Regions from separate parts of the Homo sapiens genome. Here all the other regions are linked to region 1. The links are contacts of gene promoters, found by promoter capture Hi-C in blood cells and fetal thymus (Javierre and others, 2016). All regions are on one chromosome and are shown on one strand. The core of a region is centred on a gene start or on the middle of the fragment in contact, and the rest is flanking DNA. Distances in the headings are between cores, read along the strand shown. Region 1 holds the start of RBM23 (RNA binding motif protein 23). Region 2 holds the start of IPO4 (importin 4). Region 3 holds the start of REC8 (REC8 meiotic recombination protein). Region 4 holds the start of PSME2 (proteasome activator subunit 2). Region 5 holds the start of DCAF11 (DDB1 and CUL4 associated factor 11).

Evidence for each region. The method cuts DNA at HindIII sites, captures the fragments that hold promoters and counts their contacts. A CHiCAGO score of 5 or more calls a contact.
Region 2: a contact is called between the fragment with the promoter of IPO4 here and the fragment with the promoter of RBM23 in region 1, in 8 of 17 cell types (non-activated CD4 T cells, monocytes, naive CD8 T cells and 5 more). The highest score is 13.5, in non-activated CD4 T cells.
Region 3: the fragment with the promoter of REC8 here is called in contact with the fragment with the promoter of RBM23 in region 1 in 2 of 17 cell types (monocytes and total B cells); the score reaches 11.7 in monocytes.
Region 4: a contact is called between the fragment with the promoter of PSME2 here and the fragment with the promoter of RBM23 in region 1, in 1 of 17 cell types (monocytes). The highest score is 6.8, in monocytes.
Region 5: the fragment with the promoter of DCAF11 here is called in contact with the fragment with the promoter of RBM23 in region 1 in 7 of 17 cell types (monocytes, total B cells, non-activated CD4 T cells and 4 more); the score reaches 14.8 in monocytes.

The regions. Positions count from the first base shown.
Region 1 is chr14:22,917,826-22,920,479 of GRCh38, forward strand. RBM23 (RNA binding motif protein 23) reads right to left here and starts at 1,324. Exons shown (of 14, transcript NM_001077351.2): 1 at 1,174-1,324. PRMT5-AS1 (PRMT5 antisense RNA 1) reads left to right here and starts at 1,631. Exons shown (of 2, transcript NR_120600.1): 1 at 1,631-2,654. RefSeq lists enhancers at 1-140, 629-798, 869-978, 1,069-1,138 and a silencer at 1,399-1,698. The HindIII fragment of the contact is 7,114 bases long and covers 1-1,752 here.
Region 2 is chr14:24,187,455-24,190,108 of GRCh38, forward strand. It overlaps IPO4 (importin 4), which reads right to left and starts at 1,362. Exons shown (of 30, transcript NM_024658.4): 1 at 1,265-1,362; 2 at 1,098-1,184; 3 at 890-969; 4 at 762-803; 5 at 213-342; 6 at 1-125. The coding sequence starts at 1,333. TM9SF1 (transmembrane 9 superfamily member 1) reads right to left here. Exons shown (of 6, transcript NM_006405.7): 6 at 1,695-2,354. The coding sequence ends at 1,961. RefSeq lists silencers at 358-568, 814-933. The HindIII fragment of the contact is 6,803 bases long and covers 154-2,654 here.
Region 3 is chr14:24,170,764-24,173,417 of GRCh38, forward strand. It overlaps REC8 (REC8 meiotic recombination protein), which reads left to right and starts at 1,317. Exons shown (of 19, transcript NM_001048205.2): 1 at 1,317-1,845; 2 at 1,950-2,018; 3 at 2,136-2,278; 4 at 2,363-2,435; 5 at 2,528-2,648. The coding sequence starts at 1,790. RefSeq lists enhancers at 729-1,229, 1,298-1,547 and a silencer at 1,078-1,127. The HindIII fragment of the contact is 5,740 bases long and covers 1-2,654 here.
Region 4 is chr14:24,145,208-24,147,861 of GRCh38, forward strand. PSME2 (proteasome activator subunit 2) reads right to left here and starts at 1,403. Exons shown (of 11, transcript NM_002818.3): 1 at 1,327-1,403; 2 at 1,001-1,033; 3 at 503-565; 4 at 172-258; 5 at 36-66. The coding sequence starts at 1,374. It overlaps RNF31 (ring finger protein 31), which reads left to right and starts at 2,291. Exons shown (of 21, transcript NM_017999.5): 1 at 2,291-2,654. The coding sequence starts at 2,492. RefSeq lists silencers at 1,449-1,508, 2,209-2,298, 2,329-2,558 and enhancers at 1,819-1,888, 2,026-2,526, 2,073-2,367. The HindIII fragment of the contact is 5,988 bases long and covers 1,084-2,654 here.
Region 5 is chr14:24,113,451-24,116,104 of GRCh38, forward strand. It overlaps DCAF11 (DDB1 and CUL4 associated factor 11), which reads left to right and starts at 1,327. Exons shown (of 15, transcript NM_025230.5): 1 at 1,327-1,843; 2 at 1,932-2,299. The coding sequence starts at 2,145. NRL (neural retina leucine zipper) reads right to left here and starts at 1,499. Exons shown (of 3, transcript NM_001354768.3): 1 at 1,272-1,499. RefSeq lists enhancers at 580-1,295, 877-1,016, 1,257-1,406. The HindIII fragment of the contact is 1,852 bases long and covers 735-2,586 here.

The DNA.
Region 1 (2,654 bases), core at 74-2,573:
ACCCACAATCACGTCAGTTCCTAGACCTCGTCATAGCACAAGCCAACAGATAGACCCCACTGCTAAAGGAGCAGAGAGAACCACTGTCAGACCAATTCGGGAAGAATTCACGAAAAGCTGGAGCCCCAGGGGTGATGGTAGCGCCATCCCCAGGGTCTGATCACTTAGCTGGGCACAAACACCTACAAACTGAAGGCAGCTTAACAAAAGAGGAACAATGAGAACGATAAAAGCTACTTGAAGGACCACCCTCCCCATGTTGTGTAGCTTTAAAAAATGGTCCTATAGGCCGGGCGCGGTGGCTCACGCCTGTAATCCCAGCACTTTGGGAGGCCGAGGCGGGTGGATCACCTGAGGTCAGGAGTTCGAGGTCAGCCTGGCTAACATGGCAAAACCCCATCTCTATTAAAAATACAAAAATTAGCCGGGCGTTGTGGCAGGCGCCTGTAATCCCAGCTACTCGGGAGGCTGAGGCAGGGGAATCGCTAGAACCCGGGAGACAGGATGCAGTGAGCCGAGATCGCGCCACTCCACTCCAGCCTGGGTGACAAAGCGACACTCCGCCTTAAAAAAATAAAAAAAAAGAGGTCCTATAGGCAACCAACTGGCACAATCTCTGCGGGAGCCAGTGTCCCAGGGCTCAATCTTCATATGTGGCATCATAATACGCCTACTGGAATGAGTGCTTGAAAAAGTTAAATGGGAAAAGCCCATAAAGGTCAACATAGTGAACATGAATCTTCGACAGACTAGAGATTGAGGAAGAAAGCTCAATTCCCTTCTCTCTCTCTGAATGGTGGTGCGAGTGGCTGAAACTGATGATGCGTGTCCTCTCAGGCCGCGGAGGGTCGATGCTCCCTCTCCAGTGTGGGCGACCCTAAGTGTCACGGCTGCAGAGACCCGGAAAGAAAAATCACAGGATTCTAGAAACCGCATCTTTATCGGTGCAAGATACAGCCACGAGGGTGCCCAACTCTAAAATCGTGGCAGTGGGCTACATTTAAGTAGCTAACACTTCCAGGTCAAAACAAACAAAGGTTTTTTTAATGTTAAAAGTTCGCCTGAATCTCTTCGTGACGCCATTTTCTGCCCGTGACGTCAGGGGGGAGGCGCCGTGCAGCAACGTCACGCATTGGTGACGTCTGGTGGGGACCGGGTTTTGGGGTTTCTCACCAGTTCCGGGTCCCCGCAGGGGGGTCCCGGTTCTCTCCGTTCCTTTGAGTATGTTGTGGGGAGTGGAGCTCGGATAGTTCCTAGAGTCTAGGCAAGAAAAGCAGCACTGCAGGTACAGAGCCTCCTCTTCCCGCAAAATGGCGGCAGCTCTGCCGTCTTCCAGAACCTTCCCCAATCTGCGCATGCGCCAAGACTCCCCGGCTTTGGAAATAACCTCACTGGTTTCGCGGCAACCGTCCAAAGTACAGGTTCTCATTGGCTAAAGTCCTAAGTATGGGTGGAGCAAACTCAAATGCGTCTTAGCAACCACCGAGTTCCCATTGATTGGCTAACCTCAGAGACTCCAGAAAATGGAAGCGTCCTTTGGTAGCCGCCCATCACTCTCTCATTGGTTAAATGACTTGCGGAGGGCGGGGAAAACGGGACTGAAAACGGGAGTGAAGAAGCCACCAACCCCACTCCTGGTGCTCGCGTAGACTAGACCAGTGCGATGGGCGGAGCCAACGAGGAGGCACAATTTACATCCTTGGCCGTCCCTACTCGGATTTGCTGAAGGAGTCACGTCGGTCGTTAAGGTTAAGCTTTGTAGAGAACAGCGGCGTTTGTTTAACGTCCGGGGATGCTGAACTCGAAATCCCCGTTCTGAGCCGGCTACCTAAACAACCTTCCCGACCACCTCTCCTGACCTCGGTGCTTGGGACCAGGGAAAAGCAGATCTTGCCACAGACTTGTCTTGGCCCACACTCTGCCCTATCGTCATGGCCTGCTCCCACAGGTCATAACTTCCGTTCAAATCAGTACCCCCACATTTCCCACTGCAAGGGTAAATTTGAAAGTTTCTCAGGTGACTCCTTGGATGTAGCAGTACTGAGTCCTCTAACCGGAAAGAAGGAACTGATGTCCACCCTCACTTTCCAGGGGCCTCCAGGAGCCCCTAGACACTTCTGTGGTCTACTGTAGCTACCAAAAATGTAGCTGGTTATAACATGGGGAGAGCCAGAGTCGGAGGACCTGACTTCCAATTCTGACTTGGATACTAATATCACATCATTGTACCCATTTCAAACTCCCCCTCTGTAAAATGGAAAATTGGACTAGATGATCTCTTAGGACTTCAAACTGTAACCCTGTGGTTTTATTCAAAAAAAACAGGTAGCTTCTTGCTGGAGATTCCTGGATGGATTCCAGTCTTCCCAAGAGGTAACAAAGGAGAGGTAACCAGTTGCCCGTGCAGTAGCTCAAGAATACAGAAGAGAAACTGGCTTCACTCACTATTCCATCTTTTTCCAAGGTGGCAAACTCTATGCCTCCTCCCCAGAGAAAAGCCTAACTGTAGGTTCTAATGGACAAGAGCTCACTGTAGCTGGTCAGAAAGGCCTATATCCAGGACTACAATAGTCATTGCTCAGCTTCCTAAGTAGGGAATACAACTAGGCCCCTTTGGGTCTTGGATAGGCTAAGAGGACAGATCTGAACATGCC
Region 2 (2,654 bases), core at 112-2,611, 1.3 Mb after region 1:
AAGAGCAGCCCAGGAGAGCCCACCTCACCAAGAGTCTCATTCAGAAGCCGAAGAAGCTCCCGGTGGTGGGGTTGGAAGGCCTCGGGCCGGGAGGTCACCACCACACTTAGCAGCAAAAGCCCCATCTGTCCAAGAATAGAGGATGGGAGAGCAAGCTTACAAGGTCTATCCAGCCTCTCAGGCCCTCCCTCCTGCCAACCATGTGATGGTACCTCTCTCTCTGGGCTGTGGGGGCTGTGGGTACTGTGCTGAAGCAGCTGCAAAAGCTGTGGCCAGGCCTCCAAGCCTTCCTTTCGAAAAATGGTGGCTGAGAGCTGGGCCAGGCTGAGGCTCACACAGTGCCTGCAAACAGGAGAGATCTCCTCCAATCACCCTTCAATACCTTCCTCTGCACACAGTGGCCAGGCTCAATGGGGCAGCCAGGACAGAAACTTTCAGGAGGTGTGGGCACAGGGTCTTTGCCAAGTTGGGACACATGAGACAGCAGCTCAGAGGGAGCCCAACAGCACTGTGGGCATGTAATCTGGTAAGTTCAGTCTAACTTAGCCTGAATTTCAGTCTTATTCTTCTGACTTGGGTTTGGCAGATCATCATCACCCTTCCTCAAGAACTTTAGTCTTCAAAACAGCCTTAAAATCCTCACTCCACCTTGCGTCTAGAACTGAAGTCCCTGCCCCACAAGTCCCAGCCTGGAGCCGAAAAGGAAGGCAGAAACCTAGACAAAGTCGTCAAGATCCCGAGAGAAGTGGGTAGGTACTTACTCTGTTTCTCTCTGCAGGGCCGTCAGGATCAGGGACTTGAGGCTGGAACACAGGTGGCAGGTGTTTGGTACCCAGCCTGCCCAAGAAAAGTCTCCGCCTGGCCCCGCCCCACCCCAGGCCCAGCCCACCTCTCCCGTTGCTCCGCCGCCAGCCGTCGCCAGCGGGTGTTCAGTCGTCTGCGGGTCAGCACGGCCGCAAACTGGCGGATCTAGGACGAGGAAGCAAGCACGTGGGGGTCCGGGCAGGAAGGTGCTGAGCGGACCGCAGTGGGCGAATACTGGGGCTTGACCGGTGGCGTACAGTGGGAAGCTCGGAGGGGAGAGTCAGGGGTCTCACCTGGGGGTCGGCCGCCGAGGCTAGCAGGTCGCAGAGAGCCGGCAAAGCGGCGGGGGCCCGAAGAACGATCTGGAGCTGTTCCGTGGCCTGGGGGGAAGCTAGGGGTGAGAGTTGGGCCTTTCCCGCAACCTCCCGCTCGCCCTGGCCCGGTTACGCCTGCTCCGTACCCGACGGATGCGCTCGGTGTCCGGTAGCAGCAGCTCCCGTAGGAGCTGCTCTAGCCCGGCTGACTCCATGGCAGCAACTGAGCCGCCGCTACTGGGCCGAAAAGGGGAGGGGGAGGGACAGCACGTGGAGGTTCTGACACCCACTTCCGGAGGAAAGGGCGTTGCTGCACGCCCCGCGGGTTGCCAAGGTGATTCAATTCGCTTCCCACAAAGAGGTCCGGCTCCTCCACTTCCGTTAGGCTGAGCACCGGCTGAATCGCGGAAACCCGACTCTGGCAATGTAGGTTCCCCACGCCGGGAGTTCCCAAGCTGGGTTGGAGAACTCGAGCTTCGGGCATTCAGTGGCCAGCTCGGCTTTATAAAGGACCGTGCCCTTAACAGCAGGGCTCGAGTTCCTATATCCAGACCAAAACCTCCAACTGCATGAGCCTTTTTCTTAATAAATTTTATTTTGGTAATTGTAAAAAGAAAAATCAGGACCAAAACTAAAGGCAACTTAAAAAGTTCAAATATATAATCCTTATGTGATAGAGATTTATAATTTCCAGGCCCTCTCTGGGGAAGGAATGCCCAAAGGGCAAAAGGGAAGGCAACAATGCCATCACACAATTCAGTCAATCAGAAGAGAAGCTGGTAGGAGAGTTCAACAGGGCATGAAGAAAGGGAGAGAACAGCAATAGTTCTGCCATACAGAACTCAGTCCATCTTGAGGTTAACATAGATATACCGGATGAACTTTAGGGAAGAAAAAAAGGAGATGGTGCCCAGCATGAGGAAGAAGACATAACCAGTGAGTAAGGAGTAGCCGAAGAACTCTACTGTCTGTACTGCCCCAGACATGTTGGAGCGCCGGGCATAATAGAAAACTGAGTAGAGGAAGATGAAGAGGCCGGTGGAGCCAACACTCAGCACAGATCGCCACCACCAGCGGTAATCCTCCCCAGACAACTGGAAGTAGGTGAGTGCAATGGAGATGCAAGCCCCCACACTCAGCAGGATGGCGAAGACAAAGAAGAGGATGCCGTACAAAGTGTACTGCTCCCGACCCCATACTGTGGCAAAGATGTAGTACAGCTCCACAGAGATGGCACTGTGAAGAAAAGAGATGATACACAGCATTAAAGGGCTGTGCACCATCAGCACAGTGGCTGGGCTGAAATCCAGCCCCCACCCTCTCCCATGTTGCTGGGTCATTGTGAAAAGTGAGTTCACTCCACTCTCTGCCCCAGATCTCCTGGCTTCATGGGGATTTTTTGCCTATGATTAGCCGCTCTCACTTCAAGAATATCTTCCCTAATAGATTGAGGGCAGGGATCTTGTCCATTTTATTCCACTTTATTCTTTGCCTGGCACAAAGAGGTATTCAACAAAGTAAATGGGTCATCAAATG
Region 3 (2,654 bases), core at 67-2,566, 1.3 Mb after region 1:
AAAAATACAAAATTTAGCCAGGTGTGGTGGTGGGCGCCTGTAATCCCAGCTACTCGGGAGCCTGAGGCAGGAGAATCCCCTGCACCGGGGAGGCGGAGGCTGCAATGAGCTGAGACTGCGCCACTGCACTCCAGCCTGGGTGACAGAGTGAAACTCCATCTCAAAAAAAAAAGAAACCAGCCTGGCCAACATAGTGAAATCCCGTCTCTTCTAAAAATGCAAAAATTAGTTGGGTGTGATGGAGGGCGCCTGTAATCCCAGCTACTCAGGAGGCCAAGACACGAGAATCGCTTGAACCTGAGGGGATGGGGGGCAGAGGATGCAGTGAGCCGAGATTGCCGAGATAGCGCCACTGCATTCCAGCCTGGGCAACAGTGAGAGCCTCCATCTCAAAAAAAAAAAAAAAAAATGGACTTCTTCCTCATTGACCTGTGGTGGCTCCAAGGCCATCAAAAAAAAAAAAAATGGACTTCTTCCTCATTGACCTGTGGTGGCTCCAAGGCCATCATCTCACAGCCTTTTTTTTTTTTTTTTTTTTTGAGACGGAGTCTTGCTCCCTTGCCCAGGTTGGAGTGGAGCTGCATGATCTCGGCTCACTGCAACCTCCGCCTCCCAGGTTCAAGCATTCTCCTGCCTCAGCCTCCTGAGTAGCTGGGATTACAGGCGCGTGCCACCACGCCCAGCTAACTTTTGCATTTTTAATAGAGACGGGGTTTCACCATATTGGTCAGGCTGGACTCGAACTCCTAACCTCATGATCCGCCCGCCTCGGCCTCCCAAAGTGCTAGGATTACAGGCGTGAGCCACTGCGCCCGGCCTCATCTCACATCTTTCTTCCTCTGCAGCACACGACACGCCCTAGTTGGAAACAAAGTCGGAGTTTGTGGATTGGGGGAAGGGCGGGGTCTAACCTCAGGTCAGGCGCCGTGCAAGGTACATCTTGGCACCCGGAAGAGGCCCAGTACAGTTGCCCCCGAGGTGACCCGACCTCCCCTACCAATTGAGGCGCCCTTGTTGCCAGGCTTGCGGCGGGGGAGCGGCGGGGGAGCGACGGGGATGCGCTCATTGGTCAAGGAAGGGGCGCCTGTTACTAGAGGCGAGAACCGGAGCCCATTGGTCGGAACACCTCACAATGGACCCCAGCGGCGCGCAAAATCCTTATGATTGGTTTGCTGGCTGCCTCGGGAGACCCTGTTGCCAGGATACTTGGCGTTCCCGACCCGACCCCCGTTCCCCATTGGCTGTCAGGGCAAAAGCCGCCATCTAATGAGGAGCGAGGTGCGGTGCCCCGAAGCGCTCGCTTCCCGCGGTGCGATCTAGTCCTGCAGTAGGCGGCCCGGGGCCACACCGCGGCCGCCCAAGCCAGTGCAAGGCCCAGGGGCCTGACATCGCTCCCAGCGCTCGAGGACCGAGGCCTGCTGTGGAGGACACCGTGCTCCCTCGGGACCTGCTCTGGATTCCGGCCCGGACGTCCCCTTGGAGCTCTGCATCTCCAACCTGGAACCCAACCCAGAAGTCTCAAGTTTGACGCATCACGTGGCGTGCGGATCCACTGAGGGTCCACAGAGAGGGGCGCCCATCTCCTGCGTCTCAGTTATCCTGGTAATTGTGTATCTGCCCATTGTTCGTTGCCTCATTAACTTGGCTTTCTAGGTGCACCCACCTTGCCACCAGAGAAGTCCAAATCCTGACTTCTCTCCAAGGTGTTGGGAATTCTGTGCCCTAAAGAATTCCGACTCAGATCCGAACGGGGATCTGGTGGAATCGAGGGTGAAAGACCAGAGGGACAATGTTCTACTATCCCAACGTGCTTCAGCGCCACACCGGCTGCTTTGCCACCATCTGGTAAGGGCGGGGCCCGTTGGCGCGCGATGGCGGACGCTGCCCGGGATCCCAGCCTGACAGCTCCCCCTCCATCCCCATTCTCCCACCTTCCCCACCCACTTCAGGCTGGCGGCGACTCGCGGCAGCCGGTTGGTGAAGCGCGAATACCTGAGGGTGAATGTGGTGAAAACCTGGTAAGGCCCAGAAAAGGGAAGGAGGGCCTGGTGCGGGGGGTGAGTTAGGGGATGGGGTGGCCAAGACTGTGGGCCCACTCCTGGACGCAGCGGTAATCAGGGCGCATTGTTCCCCAGCGAGGAAATCCTCAATTACGTGCTGGTACGAGTGCAACCCCCGCAGCCCGGCCTGCCGCGGCCCCGCTTCTCCCTCTATCTCTCAGCCCAACTTCAGATCGGTGTGATCCGCGTCTATTCTCAACAATGCCAGTACCTCGTGGGTAAGGCTGGGAACCCTCAAAGGTGGGGCGGGCTGAGCAGCTGTCTGCTAAGCTGGCTGTCTACCTCGTCCTCCCTGCCCACAGAGGACATCCAGCACATCTTGGAGCGCCTCCACCGTGCCCAGCTGCAGATCCGAATAGATATGGAGACTGAGCTGTGAGTGTGCCCTGGGCCTTTGATGGAACACCTGCTAGCTTGGCCTCAGCCTGGCTCAGCCTCAGTCCTTCACGGCCTACATTCTCTCCCAGACCCAGCCTGCTGCTTCCTAACCACCTGGCCATGATGGAGACCCTAGAAGATGCTCCAGATCCCTTTTTTGGGATGATGTCTGTGGATCCCAGACTTCCTAGTCCTTTCGATATCCCTCAGGTAGGG
Region 4 (2,654 bases), core at 153-2,652, 1.2 Mb after region 1:
TCACCCCTTCCCTAGTCACCTCTTATCTCTCTTACCTTCTTTCTTCTCCTGCTTATCTGTTTCCATCTAAGGCAAAAAGGGGGGAAAGTAGCTTTAGAAAAGTCACAGAGGTTGAAGGGCTATCTTCTCCATTGGGTTTATAGTCCAAGTCCTGCACCCTGAGTGCCTCACCTCATCATCCTTGGGTGGAGGGTCTGGGATGGGGATGTCCAGTGGGGCCCGGAGGGAAGTCAAGTCAGCCACATTGAGGGAGTCCTCCTGCACAGAGCTCACTGTCAAGGGCTGCCCAACCTCTTCCCTTCATCCTAGGTCACAGCCTTCCCTCCATACATCCCACTTGCACTCTGCCTCCCAACCTAGGCTCATGCCTCACGCCATCCTAATGTTCCTAATCCACTATTTGAAACTATTCTCTGCATGCTGAATCCAGTTGTTAGCTAGAGAGGGTGGGCAAAGGGGATAGAGGACATAGGATGGGGCAGAAGGGGCCCACACTACTCACTTGCAAGAGCTGATTCAGGTATATGATTTTCTGTGGCAAGAATCTGTAGAGGAATTCCTCAGCCTGTGGGTTACATTGCAAGGGAGGGGAATCACAGAATATGCTCAATGAGATGTCTGACAAATGGAACTGGAAGGGCCTTTGGAAATCACTGGGTCCAAGACTTGCAAATGAGGAAACTGAAGACCTGAAAATGAAAGGACTTGCCCAAGCTGGTAAATGGCAGAACGAAGGTTAGGACTGTGATATTCCTGCTTTGGAAGCCATGGTTTTTTTCCTCCACATCAAAAGACGGGAGAAGTGCCAGAAGTCGGGAGAGTCATAAGAAAGGTCAGATTAAAGGTAGCTATCAATAATTCCGGGGTTACTTTGGGTGAAGGCTTGGTAAGGGAAGTAGGGTTAAGTCTAGGGTGACTTGGGGGGGTCATTCTGAGAGGCTGTTATCCTCAAGTATTGGTCCAAGATTCTGGGTCAAATCGCTCAAATCCAGAGACTTACCTCCTGGAAAAGATTCTGTCTGAAGACCTCCACCTACACAGAGAGCAGTACCCGGATGTTGGTTAAGGGTCTGGGTTGTCAAAAGCTTCCACCCACAACAGGGTGCCCTCGAACTGTGGCTCAGGCCTTTCTCACCACAAACTAGCTTTCCCTGGAAGCTCCTGCTCACTGCAGTCAGAAGGCAGGAATCTGGGAATCCCCGAGAAGTGAAGGCACTAGCGAGATTGGGGGAGTTCTCTGGCACTGCTTGGTCCCCTGAACCACCCAGCTTGGCCTCCACCCAAGAGGGTTCTATGACCCCTTCCTGGCCTCCGATTCCCCATTACCTGTTTGCGGGCTTCCCCGCTCAGGCGCACCCCACACGGCTTGGCCATGCTGCTTCAGTCGCTAGATCTCTGGTCTCCCGGCTAGTCGCCCGGGCTTTCGCTTTCACTCCCCAGGTCCAGGCCCGCCCCCCTCAACCCCGCCCCCTTTCTTCTTTCCGCCCCCCTCCTCCCGCTGGCAGGCCGCAAGCAGTAGGTAGCCCCTCAGCCATTCCCAGCCAGTTGCCACTAGGAGAGGCGGTGCTGGCTGGGTCACAGTCCAGGGGCTGCCCGAGGGAGGGGCTAGGGTAAGTGGGACCGCGGAGACTGGAGCGGGGGCTGTCCCTCGGAGAGGGGCGGGGCTTATAGCTAGGGCCAACTGGAAGTCCAGGGTTGGGGTAAGAGAGGTGGGAGTATGGCAAAGGGGGTATTCAGTGGCGGGGCTCCCCCAAGAAGGCTCGACCGCAAGTAGCGGACGGAGAGAGATCAGAGCGAGTGGGAGGGGCAGCCAGAGGGAGCGCCTGGGGTGGAGAAGGACTAGCAGCTCTTAGAAGAGAGCGGGCAGGGGTTGGGTGAGGGTCTTCCCTCTGCCTTCAGGACAGACCGGAGATGGGGCGGGACTCGCTCGAGAGGGGTTAGGGCCGGCCAGAGTCGGTTCCCCTGCAGGGTGGGACTTCCTCGGTGAGGCCCGGAGCGTACCGGACTGGTCCAGCTAGAAAAAGAAAGGTTTTGAGCTGAATAGGATAACCCCGCGCCTGCGGCTATCCGGAAGGGGTGGAACCAGATTGGGGGAAGGCGGGGAAGAGCGCTTGACTGAGGGAAGATGCTGGCGCGCTCTGAGGGAGGAGCCAGGAGCCATTTGCCTTCTCATTGGTTGGGACCTGGCCCTCCCTCTTGGCCGCGCCCCCTGGTTTCCTGACACCGCTCCAACCTTAACCTTAAGCCCCGCCCGTTCCTCCGAAATTGGGTCGCAGTCCCACCCTCTCTCCTAGTACTTCCTGTTCTCGGCTAACCCTGGCGCTGGGCCGGGGGCTGGAGAGTGACCGTGGTCTGAGTGACCTGGGGCGGCTGCGTGGGCCGGGGTGGGCCTCAAAGCCGGGCACCAGACGGGAGGGGCGGCGCTCGGGCCGCGCGCTGCCCGCGCCGGGTCCTGGCGGGCGGCGAGGCTGGGGCTGACTCCTGCCTCAGGATGCCGGGGGAGGAAGAGGAGCGGGCCTTCCTGGTGGCCCGCGAGGAGCTGGCGAGCGCCCTGAGGAGGGATTCCGGGCAGGCGTTTTCCCTGGAGCAGCTCCGGCCGCTACTAGCCAGCTCTCTGCCGCTAGCCGCCCGCTACCTGCAGCTGGACGCCGCAC
Region 5 (2,654 bases), core at 77-2,576, 1.2 Mb after region 1:
TTTCCAGGCTGGATAACCCAGAAACCACGGAATCCTAAAGTCTCAATAAACGTTAAAGCACAGATAGTAAGTAATCTGGCAATAGAGGATGGGCGCCCAGCAGACCGCCTACATAATCAGTGGAGCCGAGTGCAAGATGAAAATACCAGGCACTTGCTTTAAAATTACTAATAATTTCAAGACCGTTAACACTAGAACATTAAACCAAACATTCAGGACCCTTCTAAGCGCAGAGGCCATCAAAGCTAGCCCTGGTGACAAGCTCAGGTCTCCGGATCTAGAGACTAGGAGACGTCGCCCGAAAGCTGGCCAAACCCTCGCCCTCACTGGGAGAGGCCCCAGGAGGGCCCAAGAAGGCCACGAGCCCTCGCTCCCATCCCTGCCCTCAGGAGCGGGCGGAGGGAAGCTCGCAGCTTTCCCAAGGAAGTGCAGGCTGCAGGGAATGAAGTTCAGCTCGGACCCTGAGCCTCTGAGCCCGAGACAGCAAGGTCATTCAACCCACACGTCCCCACCCAGCCAGGGCGAGGATCAGAGATGTGGCAACTCCCGGCCTTGGACTCAGGCTTGTTACTCATAAACCCGCAGGAGGGGGCAGGAGGGGGCAGGAGGCGGCGAGCGCGCACCCTGGACCCGCGGCCGGGGGCGGAGAGGCACCGCGAGGACAGAGGGACTAGCGAAGGTCTGCAAATCCCGGAGGGCCAAGGGAGCGTCAAAGGGGACAGCGGAACCGGAAAAGCTTTGACAGAAAGACGCGTGTATTAGGGAACGTCTGCAAAGACCGCGGCGGAAAGCCAGGGATTGTCTTAAAAAATTGTCAGACCGGATAAAGGGAGGTCTAAAAGGGGACCGTCCCAAGAGCAAGGCTTCCAAAAGCTAAGCCCGGAAGGACGGTATGGAGGTCTACTGGGACGCTGGGCACCCCTTAGGGCAGAACCGACTGGAGCTGCGGCCAGCGACAGAAGAACGGCTCCAGCTGGACAGGGGAAGCAGTGGGGAGAAAGGAGGCCCTTGGGCACTGTCTGAAAAGTGCGATGCCAAATGATCTTTAGGGACAGACAGTAAATTATATCCCTTGCTAAAATACCTCTCGGTAGCGAACCACCAAACGTTTCTTTTTTAAGCCCCGCCTCTCAGCCGTTACGCCTAGTTCGGCTGTCTCTGATTCAGGAAGCTGGCAGTTCCCACTTACTCCTCCCCAGCAAGAGCTAACAGCCCTCCTTGGGTGTGCACTTTCTCCTCCCCTCAGGCACCTCGCGCATTCTCCCGCCTACCTATCAATCATCGTGCTCCGCTGTCCAGTTGGCTGGCCAAGGGGGCGGGGCCGTCGTGTGACGTTTGCAGCCCGCCGGCCAGGAAGCCGCGAGATGCGTGACGAGCGAAGCGCGTGACGGAGGAGCGGTTGGCCAACGCAGTGGCGGCAGTCGGTGTAAACAAGGCCTCGCGCCGCTGCGGGTCCTGCGACCGCTCCTGGCTGGTGGGTGGTCTCGCGTGGGGCGGTTACCGCCGGCTTCAGTGGGAGGTGCTTCTCGGCTTCCTCCCCCTCATGGCGTACACACCCCCGGCGCACCACGTGGGCGTGAGGCGAGGAAGGAGGGGTGTTAGGCCAAATTCTATTTTCATTGGCTGTCACTGCTGCCGGCCTTTGTAAGGGGGCGCTCTGATTGGTCGATAAGGTGGGGGCGTCGAGGGTCTTTGAGTCCTAAGGCTTCTAATTGGTTAGATGAGATAAGCTAGTGAAGCGCTTTCTTCCGAGAGGGATTTCGATTGGTCGGTCAGAGAGGTTACCTGGAAATCCAACACCGCCCAACACCCCTCCCGCTCCCCAGTCCGGGGACTTCGATAGGTGAGTTTGGTGTAGAAAACAAATCTTTCTTCAGTTGGTGAGCTAGGGTAGCGCACTACGGTTCACTCTTGCTTTCTTTGCTTCACAGGATTGGAGAAGGTTTGTGTTCCCGACGCCTTGGTAGTTGGCATAGGCTAAAGAAAAGGGATCTCAGCCCCGAGGAAGGGTCACCCTCCTAGAGATAGCTACTACCCCGTCTCAGGAGACCCTGGTATTTCTAGAGCACGCTTTGCTTTCACCAAACCCAAGGAGGTGACAGGAGGAGCCCCCGCACAGGACCTAAGAATGCTGTGACCAGAAGATGGGATCGCGGAACAGCAGCAGTGCAGGATCCGGGTCCGGAGACCCCTCCGAGGGCTTGCCCCGAAGAGGGGCTGGCCTGCGTCGGAGTGAGGAAGAGGAAGAAGAGGATGAAGATGTGGATCTGGCCCAGGTACTGGCCTATCTCCTCCGCAGGTAACTTACCCTCTGGTGTGACCCCCAGCAGGTGCTACCACAGTGCCTTGATCCCAACTCCAGGCAGGAAAATTACAGAGGTTAGGAAATGGGATTCGCTCAGGACAGCTGTTCTGTTTGAGCTGAACAGCCTTTCCCTGCTGGGCACCCATGGCACTCAGCTCCATACCCAGTAAGAGTGGTTCTTACCTAGGGAGGGTCACCAAGAGGACCTGCTCATGTGTTTGAGGGGCTATTCAAGGGAGCCTGTCTCTGTGACTACACAAATATAGTCTATTTTCCAAGTAAGCTTGAAAAAAAAAAGGGGGGGGTCCTAGTGGGAAAGGAGTGATGTAAGGGGTGAAGAGATGGGAAG